Regions from separate parts of the Homo sapiens genome. Here all the other regions are linked to region 1. Evidence: promoter capture Hi-C in human tissues and cell types (Jung and others, 2019). All regions are on one chromosome and are shown on one strand. The core of a region is centred on a gene start or on the middle of the fragment in contact, and the rest is flanking DNA. Distances in the headings are between cores, read along the strand shown. Region 1 holds the start of GNG11 (G protein subunit gamma 11). Region 2 overlaps BET1-AS1 (BET1 antisense RNA 1). Region 3 has its middle 14 kb from the start of TFPI2.

The links. The method cuts DNA at HindIII sites, captures the fragments that hold promoters and counts their contacts. A contact is called where the count stands out against the background at its distance.
Region 2: a fragment that was not itself captured here is called in contact with the fragment with the promoter of GNG11 in region 1 in 1 of the 25 tissues and cell types used here (H1 embryonic stem cells).
Region 3: a contact is called between a fragment that was not itself captured here and the fragment with the promoter of GNG11 in region 1, in 1 of the 25 tissues and cell types used here (thymus).

The regions. Positions count from the first base shown.
Region 1 is chr7:93,919,519-93,923,839 of GRCh38, forward strand. It overlaps GNG11 (G protein subunit gamma 11), which reads left to right and starts at 2,217. Exons shown (of 2, transcript NM_004126.4): 1 at 2,217-2,715. The coding sequence starts at 2,620. The region is part of intron 1 of LOC105375402 (a long non-coding RNA gene); the gene reads right to left. RefSeq lists an enhancer at 1,819-2,454. The HindIII fragment of the contact is 9,220 bases long and covers 1-4,321 here.
Region 2 is chr7:93,972,994-93,977,314 of GRCh38, forward strand. All of the region lies in intron 1 of BET1-AS1 (BET1 antisense RNA 1), which reads left to right. It also overlaps a transcript of BET1 not described here. Among named protein-coding and RNA genes, the nearest start is that of BET1-AS1, 6.8 kb to the left of the region's middle. The HindIII fragment of the contact is 3,323 bases long and covers 780-4,102 here.
Region 3 is chr7:93,874,350-93,878,670 of GRCh38, forward strand. No RefSeq gene overlaps it. Among named protein-coding and RNA genes, the nearest start is that of TFPI2, 14 kb to the right of the region's middle. The HindIII fragment of the contact is 5,642 bases long and covers 1-4,321 here.

The sequences.
Region 1 (4,321 bases), core at 967-3,466:
GAGAATAACGTGAACCCAGGAGGCGTAGCTTGCAGAGAGCCGAGATCGCGCCACTGCACTCCAGCCTGGGTGACAGAGCAAGACCCCGTCTCAAACAAACAAACAAACAAACAGGAAACCAGCAACAATAAAACCTTTTTCAGAATCCTGTGTGATCATGCAATTTCAACATTTTGCAATTCACTTCAGTTTAATCAATTTACTTAAGATATTAGAATATGAATTATTTAATAACAATAAAAAAGACTAACAAGTATTTTGTTTCTAATACGTCTCATAATACGATGGGAAAAGTTAAAGAACCAATATGGGCTTATAAGTATTTATCCCTCTAAGCAACTAGATGATTTCATGGGAAAGAAACTTCAAAGCCAAAATAATTATATTTTTATGACTTAGAACAAACACACATTAACAAAAAATTAGTCAGGCGTGGTAGCGGGCGCCTGTAGTCCCAGCTCCTCCGGAGGCTCAGGCGGGAGAATGGCGTGAACCCGGGAGGCGGAGCTTGCAGTGAGCGGAGATCGTGCCAGTCACTCCAGCCTGGGCGACAGAGCGAGACTCCGTCTCAAAAAAAAAAAAACAAAAAAACAAAAAAACAAAAAAAAGAACAAAAACACAATAATTTATTTAACCAATTTATTTAACTTAGGTGCTGAACCTATTTAATTTAGGCCACATTCACGTTGATTACTTTCACTAATTTAAGGTATTTTTGACCAACCTTTTAAATTTAAGTAATAGAAAATTTTAAAAATGAATTAGTGCACAAGACAGATATGGACATTTGTCTAGTCTCCCTGCTTATTTACAAGTAAACTTCAGTAGATGCTCTAACTACTCTGAGCTTGGAAAACCCTGGTATTTCAAATATTGAAAGTGAAGCTCTTAAACATTTTCTTTGTGAAAATGATTTATCATATATAGACATACCAACACAATTAGAGACACAACATAGCTTAGCTGATTCACTACTTCCCTGCCTTACTATACATTTTACAAATTAGAAAACCAAAACTAAGAAAAATTAAATGACTTCTTCAGTGATGGCCTGTGGCAGAGCTGCAACTACACGCCAGGAGTATTCATTAAGTGGTTCATTGTTTTTTTCATTCTAATTTATTCATTGAGGTTGAGCGGAGCGTGGTAAGAAACTAGGAACGAACAAAAACTCCTGCTTCCTAAACAGGGAATGGTCATGGGTGTCTTGGGTCAGCTACTCTGAAATATTAAGTTAATATTTCACTTGCCTTTGACTCTGTGAGGCAGGAGGTTATCTCTGGAAAGAAAGAGAAATATCCAACTGCTAGGGAAGGTTTCTTACATTCATGTTTGATTTTTCTTCTACTCTTTTGACCACCATCAACAAGACTTTAGTTACAGTTAAAGGGAAAGTTTTATTGCATGTAAACTTTTTTCACATCGGACACTTTTCCTGGCTTTCCAGAGCAACAGCTAGATAAATAGTGCTTGCCAGAAAGTGGAGAAACTAATACTAAATGAATCCACTGCCTACATCCAGGAAGGTTCAGGAGCCAGGAATTCAAAATCCTTGGTGTCAAGTGTCACCCAAAACTTAGGGTTGGGGAGTGGAGAAAGGCTTTCGGTTAAGAACTCTAAGATTCCTGCTTCTGTCTTCTCTTATATCATCCTTTGATGCACCCCTCTACATAACATTCCCCCGGAAAAATAAAAAAAATACAAACTCTGCTGCTGTTGAGGATGCAGATGATTATTTAATAATAGAAAATGTTCTTGCAACTTGTAAACGATATTCACACCCTGTTGCCCCCTCCTCGCCCAAAATGTATAAACCCATATTAGGCCTCGAACAAGCCGGATGGACACAAATGAGCAGAACACTGGTGGGTATTTCTGGGATTAGGGCTAAGCTTCATTTTCTTTTCAGCCTTTTCTTAAGCGTCCGCATTCTCCACTATGCATTTATTACGTTGGTGCAAAACTAATTGCACCAACCTATATATGTAATTAGAGAAAAGTAATTACTTTTGCAACAACCTATGTATGTAATTAGGGAAAAGCTATATCTAGCATATTTTTAAAACTCTTTGAGAGGTGAAGGGTAGTTATTTCCTGCTGGGTAGTGTACTCCTTTTCCTAGCTTCACAAACAAAACCCGGATGTGACTTGGAAACGGAAAAAAAAAAAGGAGCGGGGGTGCGCGGAGAACACAAAGTAAAACTTCTGCTGTTCCCAGTCCTGCAGCCCCAGCCCAGCCGTCCCCCGCGGGCGTGGCAGGTCCTGAGTCAGGGCCTGTCCGTGGCCAGCATCCCTGCTGGGCGATTGAGCAGCGGGAAGCTGCTTGGACCCAGTCTCAAACTTAACCCTCATCTAGCACCCGGGCAGGCCTCCTGGGTTGCAGGGACTTGAGAAAAGGCAGAGTTCTCAGGTCCTAGGAAGCTGGGGCACGCTGGCGTGACAAGCGTCCCGGAGAAAGCCAAGCCCTCGGGGAGCTGGGGACCGCAGCAGGGCTGCAGTCACATCCTGCGCGGGTGGGCGGCGGGCCAGGCCTTCAGTTGTTTCGGGACGCGCCGAGCTTCGCCGCTCTTCCAGCGGCTCCGCTGCCAGAGCTAGCCCGAGCCCGGTTCTGGGGCGAAAATGCCTGCCCTTCACATCGAAGATTTGCCAGAGAAGGAAAAACTGAAAATGGAAGTTGAGCAGCTTCGCAAAGAAGTGAAGTTGCAGAGACAACAAGTAAGTTGGCTGTTCCGGAATATTTCCTTCTCTGAAATGAAGCAGGGTCCGATTTTTCCTGCTTAGTAACAGTAAAGCAAATAGTTTAGCTTATTTTTCCCCCTTTTTGTAGCTTCTCTTCTCACCACCCTTTGGCAGTGCCTGGGGACTGCCAGCTGATGTGGGGAAATCCTAGGAGGTAGAGGAGGGAGCAAGGATCTGATAAGTAATTTAAGGCCAAATGTCCTAACTTTTAAGATGCCTAGGAAGGGGAAAATAGACAAGAAATCTTGCTTTCCATTAGACAGCTGTTTTTCAAAACTCACTTGTAGGAAAAAAGCGGATAGCTACTTGGTTCTTTGATCTTTTACACTACTAGAAAGGATGATATTTGAAAGAAATTTTCTAAAACCGTATTTTAAAGTCTTACAAGTACATTATTTAATTTTGAATTTCACCAGTGGCCTTCAGTGATATGCAAAGAACAGTCCACCGAAATTTGGGAACAAAATATTAGAATTTCTATATTTATTTGTAAATCTCATCCCTTTATAATTTTCACTTTATGTTTTATTAGTATGCGATTAATACAGTAGTATCTGTACTTATTTATAAATAATTATACATACACTGTGGTGCATATGAAAAATTTTTTTAGTGATCACAATTTTAAAGTTTTAGAGACTATTGATAGAGATTACCATTTCATTGAGAACATATGACCCAGTATTCAATATTCTCCACTGAAACGTCTCGGGAGTTTTATAAGTTTTACTTCAATTTCTTACTGGTCATCAAGACCTTCCTTCAGACACTAATCCCTCTTCCTGTTTTAACTCAATCAGGCATCCTGTAGACTAGGAAAGGTCTTTGAATAGATATTGTTTAAAGATAATTAACCTTTCCTCTTCAGCAAGAAAATTTTGAACTGATCTTATTTATTATGGTTTAGCACTAGAAAAAATTAAGAAAAACAATGGAAATGAAGCGTTATAATATGCTCACTTGCCTTCCTGTTCTAGTTATAATAAATCTGTTAAGGGCAAGAGTCTTCACTGTTGAGTGATGATTAGAAGATGCAGGCATTTTTGTGTTTTACTTTTTACATATTTCTTTTCTCAAATTTAACCTTTCACATCCAAATCCCGGCTCTTCCTAGCTTTTATAATGAGCTGTCCCTTCTATCATGTTAAGGGTTTGTAGCTTTAAAAACACCAACGCGTTTAAAGGGGAAAAAAAGGAAGTTACACTACCCAATCAATAAGCACGCTTCTTGAAACCTTAAGGGACCCATTTTATGGATGGCGAAGTTCCCAGTACAGCAAGTGCTGGCCACTTAGATATGTTCACACAATAAACCTTAGGAGTTACATATTAAACAGAGTTTCATATGCTGAAGTACAGCATTGTCTATGCAAGGTTCTAATATCTTAATATTTGGTATCACTGTGTAGAACTTAGGAAAAAAGACAAGCGTCTTCTACTTACTCAGAGTTTTAAGTTAAGTGATGTGGATGCAACCGACTATGTAAAAATTGACTGTATCATTCATTAGCAGTTTCTCCCTGCTAGCCAGCCTGACCCTTTAGGACACGGCCTGTGGCATCAACTTCCCACCTCCAGAAAC
Region 2 (4,321 bases), core at 1,191-3,690, 54 kb after region 1:
TTAGTCTTTCCAACTTTAAAACTAGAAATTTTGCTCCGAAATGAAAGAGTATCAGGAATACAAAGGAGAACAGGAAAATCTGAGACTTTTTTCATTTAAGATCAATGAATTATTTGGTTATACAGATATTTGAAGTATAGTTAACAGATATCAAAAAGAAGTCCTGGGTTGCATTCAGTCATGGCTGCCACAGATGTCAAAACTTCACATGTGGGATGAAAGATTGTCCACAGTATGGAACAAGAGAGTTTGCAGTTTTTAAGGATTCTGCAGTCTTACTACTAAGCAAAAGCCTGGCATTTTAGATCTCCTATAGCTGTTGAGCAGAATTGAACAGTCATTCTTGAATCATATTTACTACATTGCTAGCTGATGACTAAAGTAAAGGCTCAAAACTTCAGCTGTATCTAGGAAGGTTTTGGGATCCTCAGTTCCCCGAACTTTTTGAACTACAAAGTGTATATTATTCCCATCCACCAGAATTTAGCTCTGGGGAGACAAACTCTGGAGAAGGAGTTTTCATGAAATAGATTTTCCATGTGAATTACTTGAACTGCTGTATAAAGAACTCAGAAAAAAAAATGTGTATGCATACAAACCATACATTTTAAAAACCTAGTGACTACTGATCATGGGGCGAGAACACAGAAAGACAGATAAGAGAGGTCTATAGGCTTCCCATGTATACCTCAACACCTGGCCTCTGGGCCCTGTGATGAGAAGGCTGAAACACAAAGGAATCTGAACAGGGACACTGCATACAAATACTGAATTATATGCTACATAAAGGTTTTAAAATGCACCAGGCCTGGGAAGAACCCCAACTAGAATACAAACTGTAGCAAATGTATCTAACTGTATTAAAAATGAGTAACAGAACACTACAGGAGGTGTAAAAGAAGAACTAACTTATTTTGGAAAACAATATTTTGATTGAATAGTATGAGGCTAAAGACAAAAAGAACTGCACACAAATAATATACTTTCCTTAGTAAATTTGTTCCCAAATGGGTACAGATTCATATTTCAGAAGCTATTTTCTTTGTATGCTAGGGTTGAAAAAAATACATGCATATATTGAAGAAAATGAGAGTCAGTTTTCTCTTTGTCTATAATAGAAAAGTTATATATAAGAAAAGGGATAGCTAGAATAAACCCTGTAGTATTGGATTGGAATTGTAGATATCAATATGAATTCATCATTTTTAAAGATAAATACTGACATAAACTTAGACATATGTGTATGCAATAACCAGTATAATATATGTATTCTGAAACCATGTTCACTGACAGGTACTAAAAGTAGTGACACTCTGTTAGTAGTAAGCACACCTGTCACCCAGATTTTTGTTTCTAATACCTTTATCTAATAAAAGGAACCAGAACTCCTTGGAGATATAGTTGATTCCAAGGCTGGCACAGAAAATATACAAGATAAGACTTTAGCCCCATGCAGCAGCAGGAAGTACGACAGTGCTCAAAAAAGAATAGGGCATGTTGAAAGGGCACAGGAGCCAAATGGAAAAGATCCCAATGCCCAAAGCTAGAAAAATTTACAAAAAGAAAAAATGTAATTGGATTATAATCCATAGAATAAAGTAAATATCTGTGGTGCCATAGTGATAAAGATAAGTATTTGAGTAGATACATAAATGTAGGAGAAGAGGCAGCTCTTCTTTAGAAAAAGATTCCAATTAATAAGTAAAGAAGGAATGAGGGAAATGGAAAATCACCATTAGAACACCACTAATGAATGCTGAAATTGTTGGGTAAAAGTTTGAGGAGAAATAATATTTGCATTTGAAAGTAACTCTTACAAAATATTTATTAATTAAAAAAGAAATATAGTAACTTTAGAGTAGAGAAAACTGGGAGACACCACTTTTAGAAAGTGATCCAGGTCAACATAACCAATAATTAGATACATTGACATCATACATGATATACATATATTGACATGATACACTGAGAGGGGCATATCACTTCTGTAGTATTCTTGCCAAAAATGCATAATCTCAATCTAATCATGAGAAACATCAAATAGAACCAAATTGATGGAAATTCTACAAAATAGCTGACCAGGACTCTTCAGAAGTGTCTGTTGTATCTGATGTAACAGATCAGAGGAAACCATAAAGACATCACAACTAAATGAGATGTGAGATCCTGACTAGGACTCTGGAACATAAACATAACATTAAAAGAAAAATTGGTGAAATTTGAAAAATGTCTGTAATTTAATTAATAGTATTGTACCAATGTTAACTTCTTGGTTTTGACCATTAAAGCAACTGTATTTTTCTATTTTTATAACTTTTCTGTAAGTAATGTTCTTACAAAACAAGAAGTTTTTAAAAATTGAAATAAAATGTACTAGAATATTGAGAATAGCTATCTTTGGAAAGTGAAAGTGCAGACGATTTTTATTTTTTCCTTAATTTTGTTTTCCAAAATCTCTACAATGAGCATGTGATATTTAGAAAATGCATTACTATTTTTATTTTTGGCCAGGAAATCCCTTATGTATGGCTTTAGTTGTAAAAAAATTAACAAATCGTGTTTTAATTTTAAAAGATAATGCAAAAATGTTTATATGACGTATTAGAAAGTGTCTGTAAGCTTTAATAGCAAAGGACATTCCACACCAGTTAATGCTGTTTTTTGCATAGATACTTAAATTGTCATTAAGTCATCCTTTATGTTTTAATTACAAGCATACTGCTTACCATTTTTGAAAGCCGAGATGATCCAGATATAATGGGTATAGGTGGAAAATGCTACTTTCTCTTGAGTAATTGAAGAATGTCATGATGTTCTCTTTTAATATCATGCTCAATCACACCTGCCAGATAACGATTTTTAATTTTCAAAATATTATGAGACTATCAAATGTACTTGTTAAAAACTTACTTCTTTCTTGGAAGATTTGGAAGGCTTCAGAGTCATTATTTTGACATGTCATGATATAATTCTGCAGCTGTGATAGATGGCACTGAAAGTAAGCCTCCTTCTTTTTAAGCTTCTGGACAAATGCTGAGGAACAGTCAAAATTAGCAGAAGTAGGCTTTCACTGCTACTGGTGAAATCCCTGGAACCTGAAGGATCCACTGTAAAAACAGATGGAGATCTTAGTTTCTAAATAATTTGAAAAAACAAAACAAAACAACATTTAAAGTAGAAGTAAATGTACTCTCAGAAGAGTTACAGAAAAACTGAGCAGGTATTCAGAGAATTAATGGAAGGCTTATGTGATAGAAAGCTTTCTAAGTCATTATTTTATCCTGCTTCCCTCCAACCCCTTCACATCCAGAACTACTTTTCACAGGATACATTTTAAAGATATCTACTTATTGTGTGTGTGTGTGTGTGTGTGTGTGTAAACATACATTCAGCATCTGCAAAGCACAATAAAGCAAAACACAATAAAATGAAGTACATGTACTCACTTAAAATGGCACAATGACCTTTTAACATAAGAATGTTTGGTATTGTCATTTTTATTTAAACTAGTCAAGCTTGAACGCCGGCAGGATCTCTGAACAATAGTTCTCAGGTAAATAAAAAATGTAATTTTATTGTTCTTTAAAAATAGCAATGAACATAGCATTACAGTGCTGCTTTTTTGCCTCATATTTCATCTCACCTTGACCACATGTGGTTAATAAAAGAGTACTTATTATTATTTTTTAAATTTTATTTCAATCGTTTTCGGAGAATAGATGGTGTTTGGATATACGCATAAGTCTTTTAGTGGTGATTTCTGAGATTTTGGTGCACCCATTACCTGAGCAGCATACACTGTACCCAATGTGTAGTCTTTTATCCCTTACTACCCTCCCACACTTTCCCATGAGTCTCCAAAGTCCGTTATATCATTCTTATGCCTTTGCGTCCTTCTGGCTTAGTTCTCACTTATAAGTGAGAAGAGAAGATATTTGGTTTAACATTTGTGACTTACTTCACTTACAATAACAGTCTCTGACTCCATCCAGGTTCCTGCGAATGCCCTTATTTTGTTCCCTTTTATGGCTGAGATATATCTATATCTATCTATATCTATATCTCAATCACATTTTCTTTGGATACTCCAACCTGAGCTCTTGTATCTTCCTTGTTAGTCAGTCATAATCTGGATGAAGTTTCGTCTACTGTGCACAGATCTTTCAGCATCAAAGATGTTGGAGGGGCTGGGTACGGTGGCTCATGCTTGTAATCTCAGCACTTTGGGAAGTCGAGGCAGGCAGATTACTTGAGGCCAGGAGTTTGAGATCAGCCTGGCCATCGTGGTGAAACCCTGTCTCTACTATACATATGCAGAATT
Region 3 (4,321 bases), core at 1,168-3,667, 45 kb before region 1:
GCCTAGAAGGAAAATAATGGTCTCATAGGGCAGGCCCAGGGCCCCCCTGCTGTGTGCAGCCTAGGGACTTTGTGCCCTGTATCCCAGCAGCTCTAGCCATGGCTAAAAGGGACAAGGTACAGCTCAGGCCATGGCTTCAGAGGGTGTAAGCCCTAAGCCTTGGCAGCTTCCATGGGGTATTGAGCCTGTGGGCACAAAGAAGTCAAGAATTGAGGTTTGGGAAGCTCCATCTAGATGTGTGGAAATGCCTGGATGTCCACGCAGAAGTTTGCTACAGGGGTGGGGCCCTCGTGGAGAACCTCTGCTAGGGTAGTGCAATTATCTCCCAGTTGGAGATAACTGAATCATGGGGGCAGTTTCCCATATCTGTTCTCATGGTAGTGAATAAGTGTCATAAGATCTGATGATTTTGTAGGGGTAAACCCCTTTCACTTGACTCTCATTGTCTCTCTTACCTGCCGCCATGTAAGATATGCCTTTCACCTTCCACCATGATTGCAAGGCCTCCCCAGCCATGTGGAACTGTGAATCCATTAAACCTCTTTTGCTTTATAAGTTACCCAGTCTTGGGTATGTCTTTATCAGCAATGTGAAAATGGACTAATACACCAGGAAAGATGTGGTTCTGAGAATGTGTCCTACCAGAAATGTTCATTTATGTTTTACCCCTTTCTTCACCTTTAAGACAGTAAAGAGAACTTGTGTTTGAAGAATGCAGGTAGGTATTCCAGTTGCCAGTCCTGGAAAGGAATGAGAACCATGGATTTATTGCAACCATCCTTATAATGTTGGGCCTAACCCCACTGCAGGGAAAGACTGTCAGCCTTTTATATCCACAAGGCTTAACAAATAAAACATGGAATCCTGGGAAATTACTGACACAGGCAAAAGGGCAAGGGTTATAGGTGTTGTGATCAAAACATGACTCCTCTCAGACTTAGCACCTCCAAGACATATCTCAGAAGATGGTGGCTGTGAGTGAGCTGATAAGGCTCAGATGTGTCTGAATGAGGAACATCTTGGCAGCAAAATACCAGGGAGAATATGGATTCAAGGTGGGCCTACATTCCTCTGAAGGACCAGCTGATTTAGAGAAGTGGCTTAGCAAAACAACCCTATCACAGCACAGAGGAGTAAAACTTCCCACAGGTGAAGGTAATTACTTGATAGTACATCCTATTTCATGAAAGAAAAAAAGAGGTACTATTGACAGAGAGAAGAGTTCTCCTTATCTCTAAAGCTGGATGTTCAGAGCTTTCATTTGTAATCAAATATGTCTCCTAGCTCAAAGTAAACTATCCAAGTGAAGCAAAAGCATTATCTTACATTGGTACTAAACCTTCCATTGGTCTTAGAATGGTAGAATACAAAAGTTTGTAATTTGGTAAATAATAAATAATGTGATAAAATAGAGAAGACAGAAATATAACCCTAACTGTATCCTTTGTATTATTAATTTCTTACATTAGAGATAATGATCATTTTGTGAAGGAAACATAGATATTATACACATCCATTTAGTGGGATGTTATTGTTTTTAACTTGAAAACAGATCATAAAGTAAACCTGAATGAATGTTTCCATATGGTTAAGAAATTACTCTTAAAGAGAAATAAAACACTGTAATATTGCAAAAATCAATACAAATCCTAGAAAAAGAAAGTCAATAAATAACCATTTGCTTATTTTTCAAAAAGGGAAAATACCTGTTATTAGCAGTTAAATGTTTGTTTTAACATTTGTTAGGACTATTAACTTAATAATTTTGAAATATCCTTATTTTAAACATAATTGCCTCCTTGGAGCATAACACTTAAGCTTGAGGTTAAACTACCGTGATTATTAATTATGAGAAATGACATTTTCCCACAAAAGTCAGATTCAGAAAAAAATATTTTACATTTTATTATAGACAGAAATATTGTTAAAAAGTGATAAATTGCTTACTCACTTAAAACTGTAGACTGTATTCGAAACACATTTGTTTTTACTATGTAATAATTAAACTGATGATATACTAACATTTATCTACCTTTAATGGACTCAATAAATAAAAAAGGACTGAGACTATATTTTTAAAATGAAAACCTATAGCTAAGAACTCTATGTGAAAAAAGAATTTGTATTTTACAAGTAAAAATAAAGTTATCCTAAAAGATTAATTTTTTTTTTTTTTTTGAGACGGAGTCTTGCTCTTTCGCCCAGGCTGGACTGCAGTGGCGCTATCTCGGCTTACTGGAAACTCCGCCTCCCAGGTTCATGCCATTCTCCTGCCTCGGCCTCCCGAGTAGCTGGGACTACAGGTGCCCGCCACCGCCCCCGGCTAATTTTTTTTTTTGTATTTTTAGTAGAGAAGGGGTTTCACCGTGTTAGCCAGGATGGTCTCGATCTCCTGACCTCGTGATCCACCTCCCTCGGCCTCCCAAAGTGCTGGGATTACAGGCTTGAGCCACCACGCCCAGCTGAAAGATTAATTTTAATATGCAATGCATAATATCAATTTGTCATGAGAATTATAGTACAGTGATTCAGATAAAAAATTCCCAGGAGAGGATGGCTAAGAACAGAGGGCAGACCTCTTCATTATCAAATATCAAAAGAGCTGGCTAAGCAAACGATGCAAGATTAATATGAGATTAACCTCCATTTTAGACTTAGAGGGAAGCAGCTGGCCTCTATTGAAAAACTGTAGTCTAGAACCATATCAGTTTGTGTCTTAGCATCAAATAACAGGTAAGATACAGTTACAAATGCATGCATAGGTTAAGGAGCCTGGGTTCTAAAGGTAGTGTCAACATATAATTTCTATTTTGTATGCCTTAAGAGATATGAATATAAAATCAGATTAGGTTACAAAAAGAGAAAAATCAATCCATGGTCTTTAAAACTTCAAAGAAAATTTTAACACGTTGTTTGAGACTTCCAATTTCCCTAAGAAAATAATGTATATATACAGTAATAATAATCTTTTCACGTAACTTTCCAAACCATACAGATTCATCAGGAGATCTTAATAAAACCACCCATAAGTTACTTATAGAGCAAAACTAAGAAAAAGAGAAAACATAGACTTCTATTTACACATAACTGAGGAAATAATATAAAAATTATGTGAAAAAGAAGAGAATGCAGTAGGGTCCCAGACTTGGTGAAACACAGATAATGTTACCCCAAGGAAAACACTCTTTTTCTTTGGTGTTTTCTTTGGGATAAGACAAGACCTTACTCCAACTAAGGTGTGTGGCCTGGTGGACCAAAGCAATGGCTATTGAGGAATTGGGGGAAGTGGGAGAGGCATGAAAATTGCAGGACCGGAGAGGTGGCAACCTTGTGAGAAGGCATTGCTTAGGGTGGAGTGTGAGGCAACCTAAAAAAAGTAGATATCCTTTGGAAAGAGACTTGATAGTGAATGGAAAGAAGAAATAAAGTGGTGAAAAGTAAGGATCTCATAGAAAGTTAAAAAAGAAAATAATAGAAGTGGAAGACACATCAACTCGTAAAAAAGGCATCATTTATTAAAGGCAGTGTACTTCCATGCACCCTCAGAAGAGAGTGCTCTTGAACTAAGCAACCTAGCAAGCTGCCGAAACCCCTCATAATGCACCATAGGAATGCTTGTTGTTGCTAATCCTGGAAAATCCAAGACACTTTAGAATGGACAGAAAGTCAGGCAACATTTACGTATAACTAGTGTAAGAAAAAGAAAGTGAAACTCAATTGTTTAATTTGATGAAAATAGTCCTAAAATATGCAACAGAGAAAAATGTTGATGCAACATTCAAATATAAAGTCTGTAATCTTTAACAAGCACTGGCAGATATATACATATTTGGATATATGTATATATATTTTAAATAATAAGTGTAAAATTGAACTTAACATGTATAAATAATAAATATATATTCCAATGAAAGCAATATCATTTCTTCTTAATAGGACATGAAAATTGATCTTACATGAAGTCACAAAGAAAATCTCAATAACAACTTGAATGTAGAAATAATGTAAGATCATTTATTCATAAATTATGTATATTTTTATATAAAAATGATTTTACGTATAAATGTTATATATAAATGATTTTATACATAAATGAAAATAATGTAGAAAACTTCTTTGATAGTTCAATAAAAAGAAAAATATAACAAATAGTAAGAACATAATGATAAAAGTTGCAGTTCACTGTGAATACATCTAACAATGTTATATATGAGTATAGATTCAATATACTTAAAATGTAACCAACAAAATCTAGCAATGCATTTAAAAAATAATATACAAATAGGTCATATCATTCAAATACAAGAATGGTATAATATCA